Regions from separate parts of the Homo sapiens genome. Here regions 2 and 3 are each linked to region 1. Evidence: promoter capture Hi-C in 16 types of primary human blood cells and fetal thymus (Javierre and others, 2016). All regions are on one chromosome and are shown on one strand. Each heading gives the region's core, a stretch centred on a gene start or on the middle of the fragment in contact. The rest is flanking DNA. Distances are from core to core; before and after follow the strand shown.

What was found. Contacts are between HindIII fragments. The CHiCAGO score rates a contact against its expected background, and 5 or more counts as called.
Region 2: a fragment that was not itself captured here is called in contact with the fragment with the promoter of LMX1B in region 1 in 2 of 17 cell types (total B cells and naive B cells); the score reaches 5.4 in total B cells.
Region 3: a contact is called between a fragment that was not itself captured here and the fragment with the promoter of LMX1B in region 1, in 2 of 17 cell types (total B cells and naive B cells). The highest score is 9.8, in total B cells.

What each region holds. Positions count from the first base shown.
Region 1 is chr9:126,610,167-126,615,177 of GRCh38, reverse strand. LMX1B (LIM homeobox transcription factor 1 beta) reads right to left here and starts at 1,250. Exons shown (of 8, transcript NM_001174147.2): 1 at 590-1,250. The coding sequence starts at 728. LMX1B-DT (LMX1B divergent transcript) reads left to right here and starts at 1,379. Exons shown (of 2, transcript NR_184148.1): 1 at 1,379-1,729. RefSeq lists enhancers at 1-516, 517-1,098, 1,354-2,322, 4,266-5,011 and a silencer at 3,475-3,544. The HindIII fragment of the contact is 12,076 bases long and covers 1-5,011 here.
Region 2 is chr9:124,016,031-124,021,093 of GRCh38, reverse strand. The region is part of intron 3 of LHX2 (LIM homeobox 2); the gene reads right to left. Among named protein-coding and RNA genes, the nearest start is that of LHX2, 6.8 kb to the right of the region's middle. The HindIII fragment of the contact is 9,872 bases long and covers 1-5,063 here.
Region 3 is chr9:124,001,449-124,006,375 of GRCh38, reverse strand. LHX2-AS1 (LHX2 antisense RNA 1) reads left to right here. Exons shown (of 2, transcript NR_135129.1): 2 at 1-99. Among named protein-coding and RNA genes, the nearest start is that of LHX2-AS1, 5.5 kb to the left of the region's middle. RefSeq lists enhancers at 793-1,550, 4,920-4,927. The HindIII fragment of the contact is 1,349 bases long and covers 2,504-3,852 here.

The DNA.
Region 1 (5,011 bases), core at 1-2,500:
GCCGCGGGCCTCGAGCCTTGGCTCGGCGCTGTGCTCTCCCCTTCTCCGGAGAATCCGCGCTCCGTGTTAAGACAAATGACAACGAGCACGGCGCAGGGTGGCCGGCTGGGACCAAGACAGGCGAGGTGAGGCTGGGGCGCTCGCTGGCTGACACGCCCCACGGTGGCGTTCGTGGTCTTCTATCCCCGATCTCCCCAAAATCTGTGGTTTGAGTGACCAGGGAGACGTTTTTCTCTTAGAATCTCCCCCACCCCAGGTGACCTTGCGCCTCTCCCAAGCTCGCCAAGGTGATTGCTAGGTCCTCCATCACCCCTGCCACCCGCCACCTACCACATCGGAGTGGCAGCTCTAGAACCTAAGCCTGGAAAGGATGGTGGGTGGCGACTGGAGCTGTCCTGTCCCCTCAGGACGCCTGCCGGAGGCGTACTTGCGGCCCTCTGGCGATCACTCCAGGAGTCCTGTCTCTGCCTCCTCCCCATGTCCTGCAAACCCATTTCCTTTATCCGTTGGCCCCAACGCCCGTGTCCACAGCCGGACGACGCCCCATCCCACGCCCGAGACCACTCGGGCGTTCCGACCCCGCACTCACCCAGCAGCACCCCCAGAGTGGCGGGCCCGGGGCGCAGGGCGTGCTCCTCCATCTTGATGCCGTCCAACATCTTGGCGCAGTCCGTCTGCCCGCGAGGGAAGCACCTCTCCAGCGACTCGGGACCTGTTGCTATATCCATGGGACGCGGGGCGCGCTGCGGACCCCGCCGGCCGGGCTGCTCGCCCGCCGGCCCGTCCACCCGCTCTCCGCCGCCGCGGCCCTGGAACCGGGGAGGCGCGGCCCCCGCAGGGCAGGGGTTGCGCCGGCCCCCGGCGATCGTGGAGCGGCGACGCGCTGGCCCCGGGCCCCGGCGTCGTGCGGGCGGGCCGGGGCGGCTGCAGCCCGCGCCGCGCTCTCCCGGACACTTGCAGCCACGCGCGCCGGCTCCTCTGTCACCTGCTTGTCAGTCCCGGAACCCGGCGGCGGCGGCTGCTGCAGACGGAGCCGCGGGGAGGAGGCGGCGGCGGCGGTGGCGGTGGCGGCGGCGGCAGGCGGGGGAGGGGGTGGGGGTGCAGGGGCGGCCCCGCGGGCCGCGGGGGGGGCGCGCGGCGCAGCGGGGTCCCGGGCGGGGCGCAGCGGGCCGCGGGGCTCCGGGCGCGCTCCCCGCGCTACTCCAGTGCCATGGTGCGCCCGCTGAGCCGCCGGGTTTAGAGCTGGGGCTGGCGGCGGAGGGATACGGGCCGCCTCACCTCCCGAAACTTCCTGACATTTGAACCCCGCGGCCGGTATCCCTGCGCCGGGATGCGCCGCCGGCTCCACGTCAAATAGTGCCGTCCCGCCCCCCCGCGCGCCCCGGGGCTCCGCGCCCCTGGCCCGCGCCCCGCGCCGCGCCTGGCCCCGAGCTCAGGCCCCGGCTCCCCGGCCCGGCCGCCCCGCGGGCCCCTCGCAGAAGTTTTGATCGTCTTCGAAACAAATCCCTCTGCTCCACCCCCTTGAAAAATTGATTTGGGAGTTGGGGAGCGAAGGCTTTCTTTTTTCTCCTCTGCCTTCTTTATTATTAATATTTTGTAAAGCTCCAGCGCTACGAGGAGTGGCCCCGAGCGAGGCCAGACTGCGCGGACGGCAGGGAGCGCGGCGGCTCCGCCAGGGGACGGCGCCGGCCGGGAGTGGCCGCTTGGGAACCCCCGACTGTCGGCCGAGGTAGGTCGCGGGGGCTGAGTCGGAGTCCCCCGGGCGGCGGCGCCTGCTCGGGGCCGCTTGGTCCGCGGAGAGGGCCGGCTCCCAGGAACGAAGGACGGGGGCGGGCAGAAGGCGAGGACGGCTGGCCCTGGACTCGTGCAAGGGGGGCCCAGGCCCAGGAACGGGGAGTGAGCCTGGAGTGTGGGTGAGGGGTCTGGGAAAGCTCCGGGCCTGGCAGAGATTGGGCGGGGGACTGAGCCGATGGGAGGTTGGGGCCCCGGGATCGAGAATGGGGGACACTGGGACGACAAGGAAGGTCAGGCCTGGGTTCAGGCGACCGAGAGTTTAGAGGACAACTAAGGCTGGAAAAGGGGTCCCCGGGCAGGGGCAGGAGCAGTGGGCAAGACCCGGGCCTCCTAGGGTTTGCAGTGAGGGGCGCTAGGAGGGAGTGGTGGCCCCAGGGTAGCGGCTCTGAAGAAATTAGGTTGGCTGCCAAGATCGGGGTCCTTTGGCGGGTCGGGTGCCCGGCCAGGGGTCGCTGGGACGCGCGGATCAAGGACAGTGCTCTAGCCAGCCTGGGCAAAGTGGACCTCGGCAACGGGACGCGAAAGCTGGCGAGATGGAGCTGCCGACTTCCGCGCCAGCCGGGCCTGGCACCCGCGTCCGGTGCGAGAGGCCACAGCGTCGGACCGGCTGTCTGCGGCCCGTGGTCCCCACCGACGCGCGGCTCACCGGGGAGCAGGGGGGCGGTTGCGGCCCGGGGTAGCGGCGGGCTGACCCCCCGCGATCCGCTGCGGGGCGGCCCCGGCCCCTCCCGGAGCGAGGCAGCGGCGCGGAGCCGGGCGGGGGCGGAGGGCATGGGGGGCGGGTCCCCTGACCTCGCTGGAGGCGAAAGGGCGGATCGGATTTGGAACCTGCGGGAGGCTTGGTCAGAAGTGGCCCCCTGCGCCGCGGGGCCCCGCGGAGGGGCCCGGCTTTGTGGAGGATTAGAGGCTCCCGCCCTACCCTACCTGCGTGTGTGTCGGTGGGTATCTGTGTGTGTCTGTGCGTGTCGGGCCCCCGCCTCTGCGGCTCTTGCCTCCGTGTGCTCCTTGGCTCTGCACACACGGTATGTGTGTCCCTGCAACCTTCCAGACTCCCAGGGGTGAATCTGTGGATCTGTGTCTGAGTCCCCTGCACCCGTGTGTATGTGAATGTGTGGGTCCTTCGTGCCTGTGTCTGGGGTGTGTGTCCGCATCATTTCATGCGGGGGCCTAAGTCTTTGTGCGTGTCTCAGCCTCTGTGTTGTGTCTGCGATCCTTTTCTGTATGGGTGTCTCTGTCAGCTTTGCGTATCTGTGCTTATCTCCGGGGTTCTGAATGCTTCTGTGTGCTCGCGTGTCTCCTAGCGTGTGTGTGTGTGTGTGTGTTTGTGTGTGGTGGGGGGCTTTGTGCCTTCGTGTATTTCTAGGCGCCTTTGTGTGGCTAGGTCGGGGAGAGTGGACAGTCAATGTGGAGTTTCTCTCCCACATCTCGGTCCCCTCTTTGCTTGACCTGGAAACCCCAGGCCTGGACCCGCGAAGTTGGGCTGGGCCTGAGCCGCCTTCTCCGGGCATCTGGGGCGGGGGCGCGGCTGCTGCAGGGAGAAGCCGGGCGGGCAAGGCTTCGGCGCACAGAGCCAGAGTCCCGAGGCGCGGAGCGCGGCTCGGGGCCGGCGGGCGGACCAGGCACTTTCTGCCCTCTGCTGGTCGCGGTCCATCCCTGCAACCGGGGCTGGGCGACTGCCTGCAGGCGAGAGTCCTCGTTCCAGGCCCAGACCCTCTCCCTCTCCTTCAGGGTGCACATGGTAATACTCTCTCGTCACAGGCCCTGCACCCCCAACTCCTGGCGCAAGGCTCCATCCCCTCCCCACCTTCCCTGTGCCTGGCCTCTCCTACCCTACAGCTCTCCTTTCCCCCTCCTTGGCTGAATGAGGGCCCCTGCGATCCAGTCTCCCAGGCTTCTCTAACTCGGGTTGGCGTCCAGTGCCGATCTGGGGCCGCTGGCTGTGCCCAGAGGCGCATTCCCCGGACCACTCGAAGGCCTGGTCTCAAGGCAGGAGGACTTGTGGGAAGTACCCCCTCCGTGCCGCGTCTGGTCTGTCCGGGTGCGCATGCATTCTCAGCGCCTCTTCCGCGCTCCTGCCAGTCATATCCCACGCCACCAAGGCGGATATAGGGTGGTCTGCCGCCATGCGGCCCGCGCCCAGATAGGGGCGCTGGCTCGGTGGACGCCAGAGCCTGGCTGCCTTCTCTGGTCTGGGGTGGGGCTGCTGAGTCCACACCCCTTGGGCCCCTCTGCATGCCTTCCCCGCTGTCCATTCATTCCCCCTACACACACACACACACACACACACACACACACACACACACACACACACACACACACACACACCCTCCCTATAGGCCCCGTTCCTTGCCCTTTGTCCTCACTCCTCGTGTCCCGTGCTCCCAGCTGAGTTGGCCGGTCTCGGGTCCTTCGCACGCAGACGCGCAGGGGTCCCAGATCTCTCCAGCACAATCGGGGCTCCCGCGCCTCTCCACCGCTTCCCTTGCCGAAGAAGCGAAGAAGCGGCCGACTGGACGGCACAGCAGGGGCCGAGGCCCAGAGCCGGCTCCTGCCCGCAGGCGGCGAACGGCACCTTGCTCCGCCAGGCCCCTGCGGGTGTGATCCGTGACCCGCAGATTCTCCCGGGCGCCTCTGGCCCATGACGCGGGGGCTGCTCGCTCCACGCAGGCGGCTTCGGGATGCTCTCCCGCTCAGATTTCAGCGGCAGAAACAGCCTCGGATTCTCTCTACCTGGGGGAAAGACTGAGTCGGGGGCTCGGAATCACTGGAAGAAGCGAGAATGGAAAGGGAGGCTCTGGAGCGGGGGTCCCGGCTCCTTCCAGTCTGCGGACGCCCCAGCTCCATTGAGCCCCGCCCTAGTCCCCCCGCTCCTCTTCTTAGGGCCTTGCACCCTCTCCTCTGCGCTACCCGCCTCCCTCGAGCACGGCTCTATGAGCTGCCCTCCCCCACCCCACCCAGCCCTGTCCATCCCGCTCCGGGCTGTCTGGATTGTTTTGTGCTTCTGACCAGAGCCAGAGCCACACTGCCCCCTCCCAGTTTACCATTCCAGCTGGAGGCACGGATCTGGGGCAGCGCAGGGTGCAGTCCTGGCCGGGTTCGGAGGAGTGGGAAGGCAAGGACCAGGAGCTGCGAGTGTCTCTATTCCACTCTGCCCGGAGAACCAGGGCTGCAGAGAGCCTGGGCCGTCCCACGCTGTCCCGGCGCCATCAGCCCTGCC
Region 2 (5,063 bases), core at 475-2,974, 2.6 Mb after region 1:
GAGGAGACACAGAGCCGGTGGGTGAACTTCCTGACCCGCCCCCCATGCCAAATCCACACTCGCCCCACCCACTGCCAAACATTTCAATCCTTAACCCTGCTGCATGTCTGCGCCACAATGAAAGGGGGACATCATCCCCATTTTATAGATGGAAACACTGAGGCTCAGAGACAGCGATCCACCCAGGATCACACTGCTAAGAACTGCAGCACTGAATCCCGGCTCTGGGAGAATCCAAAAATCATTCTGAGCCATTATGTTACAATAAGAACAATAGTAGCAGCAGCAGCAGCAGCAGCAACAACAGCTACGACTTGTTGATGGCCGATTGAACTCCAGGTGATGTGTTAAAGGGCTTTCCAGGCACATTTTCTTTAGGTACTTAAAACAATCCTAGGAGCACCAGGTATTATTTTTCCCGTTTTTACAGATGTTGAAACTGAGGCTCAGCAAGGGAAGTCACTTGACTTTGGACACAGCAGGACAGGGTCTCTGGGCCTGCCCTCCTCCTGTTTTCCAAGGCACTCTAAGGAGGAGTGCTTTCTGCCGTCTCCCCCTACCGTGTCTGGGACCGGCACCTAGAAACTGCTGAAACAGAGATTCATGTTCATTTTGCCACACCCAAAAGTACTGAGGGACCCCTGGGCCTTGGGCACTGGGCCAAAGGTTGGAAACTGCATTTTGCAGTTTAATCCTCATCGCTACCCTGTAAGATGATTGTTTCTCCGTGAACAAGTGGAGCAAATTAGGCTCGGGGAAGTTCAGAGATCTGCGGCAGTCCACAGAGAGCGGCAGAGTGGACGGGGAAGGAAGTCCGAGGCAGAAATAAACATGTAGTAGACACCTATGGTGTGTGTTTGGCTTTACAAATGTCACTGTACATCATTACCTCTCAGAGAGGTGGCTATGACTATTCCCATTTTAGAGATGTGGAAACTAACGCTAAGGGAAATGAAGCCACTTGCACACTGCCACACCACCGGTAACCAGCTAGATTGATCTTGATCTGTTGAGCCTAGATTTAGCACTGGAGTACTCCTTGTTTTCTTCCACTACACCACGAAGGGAGGAGGGAGCCTGTCCCTAACCACAAGGAGCCTCATGGGGGCCACGCTGCCAATGCCTGGCTGGCATTGGGGGTGGGGAATATGGGTGAAAACCTGGGCCTCAGAAAATTGCTCAGCCACCTGGAAGCTGATGGGGACCTGCAGGACCCCTCCCAAGGTCGCCTCCTCATGGCACCTCCCGAGCCATGCCACACTTAAGGTCTTGCCTTGGGGTAAGCCTCATAAGGGGTGTACATTCGGTCCGCCTAAAGTGAGAACTGAGAAGGTATCTTGTGCCCTCATCACATACCCGTAACAGAGCTCTAGATTTAGCAAATGAAAATACAGGTTGCCCAGTTAAATATAAATTTCAGAAAAATAATAAGTAATTTTTTAGTATAAGCATGTCCTAAATATTGCATGGGACATACCTATACTAAAAATGTATTTGTTGTTTACCTGAAATTCAAATACTACAGGTGACACAGCTATGCTAAAAAATTGTCATTTATCTAAAATTCAAATATTACACGGGACACTTATACTACAAATTTCAAATTTATTCGTTATTTTTCCAAAATGCAAATATTGCCGGGGACACTTACACTAAAAATGTATTTGTTACGTACCCAAAATTCCAATTTAACTGGGGATGCTGCATTTTGCCTGGCCACACTACCTCCAAAGGACTTTTACTCTGCTGGTGACCTCCCCCTTCCCCTGCCCAGATGGGGAAGAGCCCCTTGCAGAGAGAATTTGCAAGATACAAGTCTTGCCCCTGCCTTTGGAGCTGTTAGCTAGGGGCTACACCTCCTAGGGGCCTCTTTCCACCGGCACTCAGGTCCCCTCACCCCCGGGGCTGCATTCCCACAGAGAGCACGCCCAGAGTGAAGAGCGCGGGTCCGGCAATTTAAAGGGGATCAGAGGATGCCTCTGAACCTGATCCACCAGAACTGCTTGGAACCCGCTGAGGTGAGCAACCCTTTTCTTTCCCCCAGTCCCCAGCTCCACTGGGGGTGGGGCAGCCTCCCTACGGGGTATCTTTGGGCCCATCCCTCCACCGAGCCCCCGCCTGGGCCTGGCTGCTGTTAATGAGCTCCGTGGGGACCCCGGCGCCCCCATGGGCCCAAGGGACCTGCCCTGAGTGCCGCCTAGGTGGGGTAGTAGTGCGGGGGAGGGGGACAGAAAGGGCAGAGAAAGGAGAGAAAAAGACAAACACAGAAAGGCAGAATGGAGGGAGAGAAAGAGAGAGGGGGTAGGGACGGAAGATGGACAGAGCCAGGAAAAAGAGAGGACAGACAGAGGAAAAGAAAGCGAAGGAGCCAGGAGAACCACAGAGAGACAGCTACAAAGACAGCAAGAAATAGGGAGAGCGGAGGGGAAAGCGAGTCCCGGAAACAGGCGCAGCTTGTGGCGAGGGTCCGGTGGCCGAGCTGAATCCCGGGGCTCCGGGAGACCCGGTCCCTGCGGGGGAGGCCTTTTCCGAAGCCGTTATTGGCGGGGGAGTAGAGAAAAGGGGAAAGAAGGGGAGTGGAGAAAAAGGGAAAGGAGCCGGCCCTAAGTAGCGAGGCCGAGGCCGGCCAGAGGCAAGGGCAGGGGGCGGCGGCGGGGGAGGCAGCCGTGGGGCCCAGGTTTGGCCGGCGCCCCGAACCCCCTCACTCCCGCCCCCAGTGCCCGGGGGCGGGTCGAGATTCCCCAGGATCGGATCCGGGGAGGAGCGAGGGGCCGAGGGGAGGGGGAGGACCCGGGCTTTCTCTCTCCTTTTTTTTTTTTTTCCTCTCAATTAGGCCGATTCAATGGAGCTAAAGAGCTCGTAAAATCATGAATAATTTACTCGTGATCTGTTATTAACCCATCGGGTTTCGAGCTCTTGTCGCTGGGACTGAACCTGTAATCAAATCTGACTTCGCCTCATTTTACTAAAGACGAGATTGTAGGTTCAATTGTCTAAATAATGGATTGGAATCAAATCAGTAATTACGCCGCCAGGCACACACACACAAAAAGCTGGGGCTGGGGGAGGCCGGGCGTCCGGCCGGTCCGCGCGGGACTCCCGCGGCCGCGGCGCGCAAACCCAGGCGCAAAGTGCGCGGCCCGGGCCCCTCGCCCGCTCCTGCCGCCGTTTTCGCACCCCCAGCCCGCTGGCAGCCCCTCCCGGGGTAGGGGGAGGTTTCCGTTCCACCGGGGCCCGGGCCCGAGGGGCTGCGGGAAGAGGCCGCTGCGGCCCCGCCCCGGAAGGACTTTCCGACCCCGCGGCCCGCGGCTCTGCTGTAAGCCCAGCGCCCGGCGCCCCGACGGCGCCCCCTCCCCACTCGGCCCCCAGCTCGCCGCCCTTCAGTAAGGTGCCGCCGCGCCTCGGAGGGACTGTCCCCAGAGCAAGAGGCTTTGCAAGGGGTCGTCGTGGCTGGGCCACAGGATGTGGGACACTGCCACAAACAAGCTCGTGTCCCCGTGGTCGGAACCCTGCACGCACACGCACACGACCCGCGCCCGCACACCCCGTCCGCGATCGCACCCTCCAGGGTCCCCGCTTTCCAGTCCTAGCTGCCCCGCGGCCCACACTGCGGCCATTTCTCTCCTGCCAGTGCGGGAGGGGAGGGAAGGGCGGACGCCAGATCTAGGAAGACTGGGCTGGGCCCCGAGAGGCCGGGGAGATGCCCTCTTTCCCCAACCTAGTCCCGGGAGCCCCGAAAGAGCCAGCCGCATAGCCACCGCCGGCGCACCGAACGCCGTTTCTCTCAGGACTAGGAGCCCCGGCCAAGGTCGGAGAGGAGGGCACGGGAACAAACACGACACACACAGAGACAGAGATAGAGAGAAAGGACGGAGAGAACGGAAAGGAAAAAAAGAGAGAGGGAGGCCAGAGAGAAAGTGAGATGGCTGAATGGAGGGTGTCTCTTGTAGAGGTTAAACAAGGCTTGAAATTCAGCCTCCAGCCCACCTCGCTGGGGCAAACGGCGGCTGAACAGCAAAAAGCAGAAATAAATCTCTGTACCTTCTACTCTCTTTTTGCACAATCCTAAAACCGGCGCCGAACCTCCGTGCCCAGGAAAACAATACAGCTCCCCAGCCACCAGGTGCCCTGGAGCCGAGCCCCGCGAGGTGCTTCCGAGTGGAAGTTGACCCACTTGATAAATAGAAGCGGCTTGGTGTTGGGGGAGCCGGTCTGAACTCGGTTTTGTCTTTTTTTGGGGGGTGGTAGGAGAGGAGGGATGGAAGTTCCAGAGAGCTACATCTGTGGTAGTGCCTTCAGCAAATCTTAAATCCGCGCCACCGACCGGCCTACCGCTGCTTCACCATTTACCAAACTGGGGGCTGCGTTTTCCTCCCAGTTCCGCACACAGGGACACACGCCCCATGATCCTCCAAGCGATTTCGTTGGAGCGAACACCCGCCCCTCATTTCCCTCTCTATTCAACTCAGATTCTTTAAGATGAAAATAACTGACTTCTTCCCGCCGTAGCACCCTCTGCACAGTCTTGGGTTTGTTTTTGTTTTTGCTTTTTTCTGCTTGTGCATTAGACTAAAGGGAAAAGGAAGAAGAACACAAAATCTCCAAATCTAATTCTGTTGCAAACGAAAGAAAGAAAATAATTGCACATAAACTCTAGTTCGGAAGCCCGGAGAGTCATAAACCTTTCCGGGCCTTGCAGACTTCGGGCAGATGTTGACGGCTCATTTGCCGGAACTCAGAACCTCTGCAGCTGTCCTGAGCAGGGAGGGGCGCGGGAGGGGGCAGAGCTTCTCCGGGAATGGCCTGGGGTTCAAAGATGCCGGAAATCCGAACCAAGCCCCCCACCTCACCCCACCCCACCCCACCCCGGCGCGAGGCCAGGCCTGCTCCGGTCTCGTCCCCGCCCGGGGGGCTCGCTTCCGAGGGTCACGGCCCTCACCCCAGCAGGCGCCAGGAAACTCGGAGGAAAAAGTCCGGGAAAACTGAGACCTGTCTTTAAAGGAGGATCGGGCCGAGCAAAAGGAACCGCAGCCTTTGCTTTCCTGAGTTCCCCAAGCCCGAGT
Region 3 (4,927 bases), core at 1,929-4,428, 2.6 Mb after region 1:
ATCTAGGTCCTGCTTAAATCACATTGTCAACAATATAAATCTGTCAGATCAGATTTTTCTGAAAGAACAATTATAACAAAATACACTATAGCTAATTGCATCCCCTCACGGCTAATTTCCATGCAATGATGTAAATTTCCCTGGAAGCAAAACCAAAAAAGGTAAATGTTGCAAAAAGATGCCATTTTTTCCCCAACTGGTATAACTACAGTCATTTATTGACAATCATTTCTTTTTAATCTAGCCCAGAATGATATCCAGTACTAGTAGGGCCATTTTGCTAACCTGGTTGCTCTGCCAGCCTTTCAGGTTGAAGCACAAGAAAAACTAGCAACAAATTTCCTCACATAGGAAACCACATTTTGCTTAGAGGAGAATCCAAAAGATTTTGTATGGAAAAAGTGGGGACGGGGGAAGAGGAGGAAGCAGATGAACCCTTGACTGTCTGACAACTCATATTTCCATGCACTTGAGACTAAAAATTTTTCCTATCACAGCCTTCTTCATTCAAAGGCATCTCTGCCATCCTTCTCTGACAGCAGGACACCTCTAAACTCCATTTCTAAGCACAGGTTTCCCCATAAAGCTTTTATGAGCTTCCCATACGCTAACACCAATCGACTGGAGTGCCCAGCCAGCACTGACTGGAGTTGGGTTTGGTAAACATTTCTACATAACAAAAAAGGAGTTTTTAGCTAAAGATGCTGGACTTGGCTCCTCCTTGGGTTCTCAATCAGAGGACGAGGGTCTCTACCCACTTGCTGGAGCCACGCTTTACAGATCACCCCATGTCTAGCACACCCATTCAGCCCCAGCCTCTCTTTAGTCCAGGCTAAAGAATGTTGATTTGAGCTTCCCAGCCACTGGCACTATTTTACCATCACAAAGCATGCTAGGCTCCCAGCACAAAGTGCAACTTCCTAGGAAGTAAGACAATTCCTCTCCTAGAAGATGATGTAGGATGTGTTAGTTTTCCAAGGGGAACACTGAGGTTGCAGGGGAGGAAAAATGCCCAGTGTGACCACCATATCTCCCCCTACACTTTCAACAGGACCCCTCCCACACCCAAGTCCAACTTTCCACTGGTTTGATTAGCAAATCTCTCCTGCTTTTGGGAAGTTGGCATTGTCTCTTTAGGTGAGGAATGAGTCATTTCCCACACATGCTTCAGCTGAAGCCCAGTCCCTTGGCACCCCTCCCCAACATTTTTATTCTTCCATTAATTAAAACAACTAATGTCCCATTGATTATCTTTGCATGAATGAAAATCACTACAAGCCCTTGCAGGTATATGAGAAATTCTGTTTGCTTAAGTATTCACACTTTGATTTCCTATAGGCTAATTTTCTCAAGCATAAAGAAATTCAAACAAAACAAAACAAAAACAAAAACAAAATCTCCTGGCACTTTGCAATAAAATACAAATGCTAGTTGTAAAGAGCTTGTGCCGATCTCTTGCAGGAAGAAATGTTCAGATGGCCCTGTTTTAGTGCTGAGTTTTACTATCTGGTAATGGATTCTAGACAGTGAAGGCAAACATTGATAGGTCATCAGACTCAGGTTTTGAATTTCTGTTTGTGTTGAGTGAGATGAGCTCACCCAAATTTACTTTTAAGCTACCATGTCAGCCCTCGAAAGTAAAAAGGCAGGGGACAATCGACACTATTTAGAATTTCCCAGCTACTTGGCCATTTCAGCTTGCATCTCCATTTCTGGGGGCTGCCATAATTAGAGCGATCTATTTTGCATTTACTTCTCTTTGCAAGCACTACATTATTCACTCTTTCCTGTGCTTATTAAACAGTGCCACCTGCACCAAATTCAACAAAGCTCTTCCATCAGTCGGGCCCAGCGAAGGATCCCAGACCATATATTATCATTAATTGAAGCTCAGTTGAATTGTTGACGATAGAGTCAACAGCAAAAGCAACACATTTTCTAGGAGCTGTTTATAAAAATATTTTAAACAAAAAAAAATGCATTCTCCAAATCGTCATCTTTTACAAACTCATTTCATTCCTTCTGTACAGTAATTCAAGCAGCAATTAGCAAGTCTTTTAATTAATGAACTATTCCCTGTATGTCACCAAGGTGCCTGCAGCACAAATGTCCTCCTTCATAGGTACCAGCAGATGCAGTCGATAGTTTGTCCCCCAAAGCCTTAGAAGCTGACTACCTCGACAGCCCTAACACTAAAAAAAGGATGTGAAGAGCCAAAGGCAAGGCTGGAAAGCAGAGAACAATTTTCAGGAAAGTAGCCATGGAGAGTATGAATCCAGAGAAAGGGAAAGACAGGAGAAAGGGAACCAGCAGCAGAGGGGAGAGGCAGAATATGAATGTCTAAAGACATCCATGGCTAAAGAAAGGCACAGAAAGTTTCTGGCAAAGGTGGGATCATCTCTGAGCTTCAGCTACGTTATAAAGGTACCTTACATCCTAATGCTGATGATTTACACATTTTTAAGAGCCTCAAACCTCACTGTGGCTTGTTCTTTTAAAAGCTTCCTGCTTTGTTCAAAATACTGCTTATCTTTGGTATTGTCAACAGCTCTGCTCTGGGAGAGATTAATTAAGTGATAGGTCAGACACAATGAGGTGAAAGGGCATGTCCACCCAATCAGGACTGATTCATCCGTTTCTAGGTGGATCAACTTTTTTGAGGGATGCCAATTTTGGTTCAATTTCCAGGGGGTTTTATCAATAGGGATGCCTCAGCTCCTCTGGTGAGGGGCACTTAGCTGGTAAAGACTGGTCTGCAGATAGAAAAATCAAAAATCTTCACTTTGTTTTTTTAAGATGTGGAAACAAAACATAACTATCAATTGTCTGTATGCTTAAGTTTTACCGATCTGGGAGAAGGCTGATTTATTGAATCCTTTTACAAAATACAAAATAGCTAATTGGGTGGTTATAATTAAGATTGCTACGCACCACAAAAAAAAAAATAAAAAGTTCGCTTTCTCTCCTCCCCCCACTGTTTTTCATTGCCCTTTTCTTTCAAGTCCACTTTTAATTTCTAGAAGGTAATATCAGAGAAAAATAGAAAAGAGAGAGAGAATGAAAAAGAAACAGAGATTTTCAAGATGTCATCTCTTGATGGTGGAGAGACAGAGAATGAAAAAGAAACAGAGAGATTTTCAAGGTGTCATCAGCTTAATTTTTCCAGACCAATTAGAGGTTACCTTTAAATCTCCATCCTTCACCCCCTCCACACCTTTCTAAATAGATCTTTAGACTAGTGAGAAATTAGTTCATTGGGAAGGGTCATGTGGTTGGCTTACCAGGTTCCTAACCAGAAGGGTTTTAGGGACCTTAGACCCACTCCTAGAAATGGCACCCTCCCCATCTCTCTGGCAGTCTGGATCAAAATTGTGGTTGCAAAATTGTGTGTGTGTGTGTGTGAGAGAGAGAGAGAGAGAGAAAGAGAGAGAAGAAAACTCCCAGCCTGTGAATAAGGCCAGGCTCAGGTAAGGTGACTATTATTGGCAGACCCCAAACAAAACATCTGGAATATTTTTACTCTATTTTTGAACACTCTTGAAAATGAGCCTCACATTTTCCAAGGTATTTTGGGGGCAGGGAGGAAGTATGGGGGTGAACAATGGTTTGGGTTTATGCAACTGACCAGCCATTTCCCCTTCTCCAAAGAAATGTAGAAGGCTAGTTTCTTAACTATCTAGTTGTTTAAATCATCTGGGATCCATCTATATTTATAAAACTGAACAGAAATACTTAACAGCCTGATCAATAGCCATTGACCGTCGGTGCACCTCGCACCCTAACATGCACAGCTTGATCATGTATATTTGATCATTGAAAAATTCAAAGCATCTTGCAGCAGTGTATCAAGCTTCCCATAAAATAGTCTGCCTCTTTCTGTGGTCTTAAAAGAGTGTGTTTTTCTCTCTCCTGCATTTATCTATCTATCCACCTATTTATCTACACACACACACACACACACACATTTCCCTTCCTGGAGAATTTATTGCTCATATATTTGATGAAGAACAAGGTAATTAACTGCCTGCGAGGCTGTACATCTGGGCGGCACTTCATATCCATTGCAATAATAAAACACTTTTTTCACATTTTAGCAAAAGAAAGGCTAGTCCTGCCCACAGATTCAGAGGACCCCAGAGTCTCTGCCTGCAAAGTCTCCTTGTTATAAATCCTGCCTCCCTCTTAAGTGATGGCAAGCACAATTGCACCAAGGGGCACTAAGTTTATCTGTGCAAAAGCATCACTGGAAAAGCTTGTCCCTTCTCAGAGCTTCAGCATCAGCTTGTGGGGGTTTGAAACAGACACAGCTGGCTCCTCCATCCCCAGCCTGCTTGGCAGCAAACCGGGGCAAGAGTCCAAAGGACTGATCCTGTGAGGGGCCACAGGTAGAAGAGATATATTTTGGGATCCCAAGGGTTGTTGTCTTGAGCATGTGTCGCTAAGAACTAATTACTCCCAAAGGACCCGATCCTGCAGATTTTTCTGATATTCTGGGGTCAAAAAATGGATTCCAAGTTTCTCCAGAAGGTATCCCAGATCCATCCAAACTACTCCAAGATCCTGGGCAGAGGAATACAAGCTGGCACAAGCGTGCTCCAAGCCCCCAGCACAGTTCTTATAACTCCAACCTCAGAGACCACCCCTACCCCCCCTACCCCCAGCCAGCAAAACAAATTACCTGCAGAACCTCCCATCTCGGGAGTCCCCTGCTCTGTATTCCCGACCGTGCCCCGCACAAATTATTCGGGGCCCTTCCTTTTAAAAGCAGCAGCATCTGGGCTGAGGCTCCCTCCTTTAAAGGGTGGGGGGAGACTTCATATGATAATATGTGTAATATGATATGGAATGACAGAATGCATGACAGTTGCCCATAATACAGAGAAGTCAGTCAAAGGACAGAGGGGACATTTGGATAATTACCATCTAT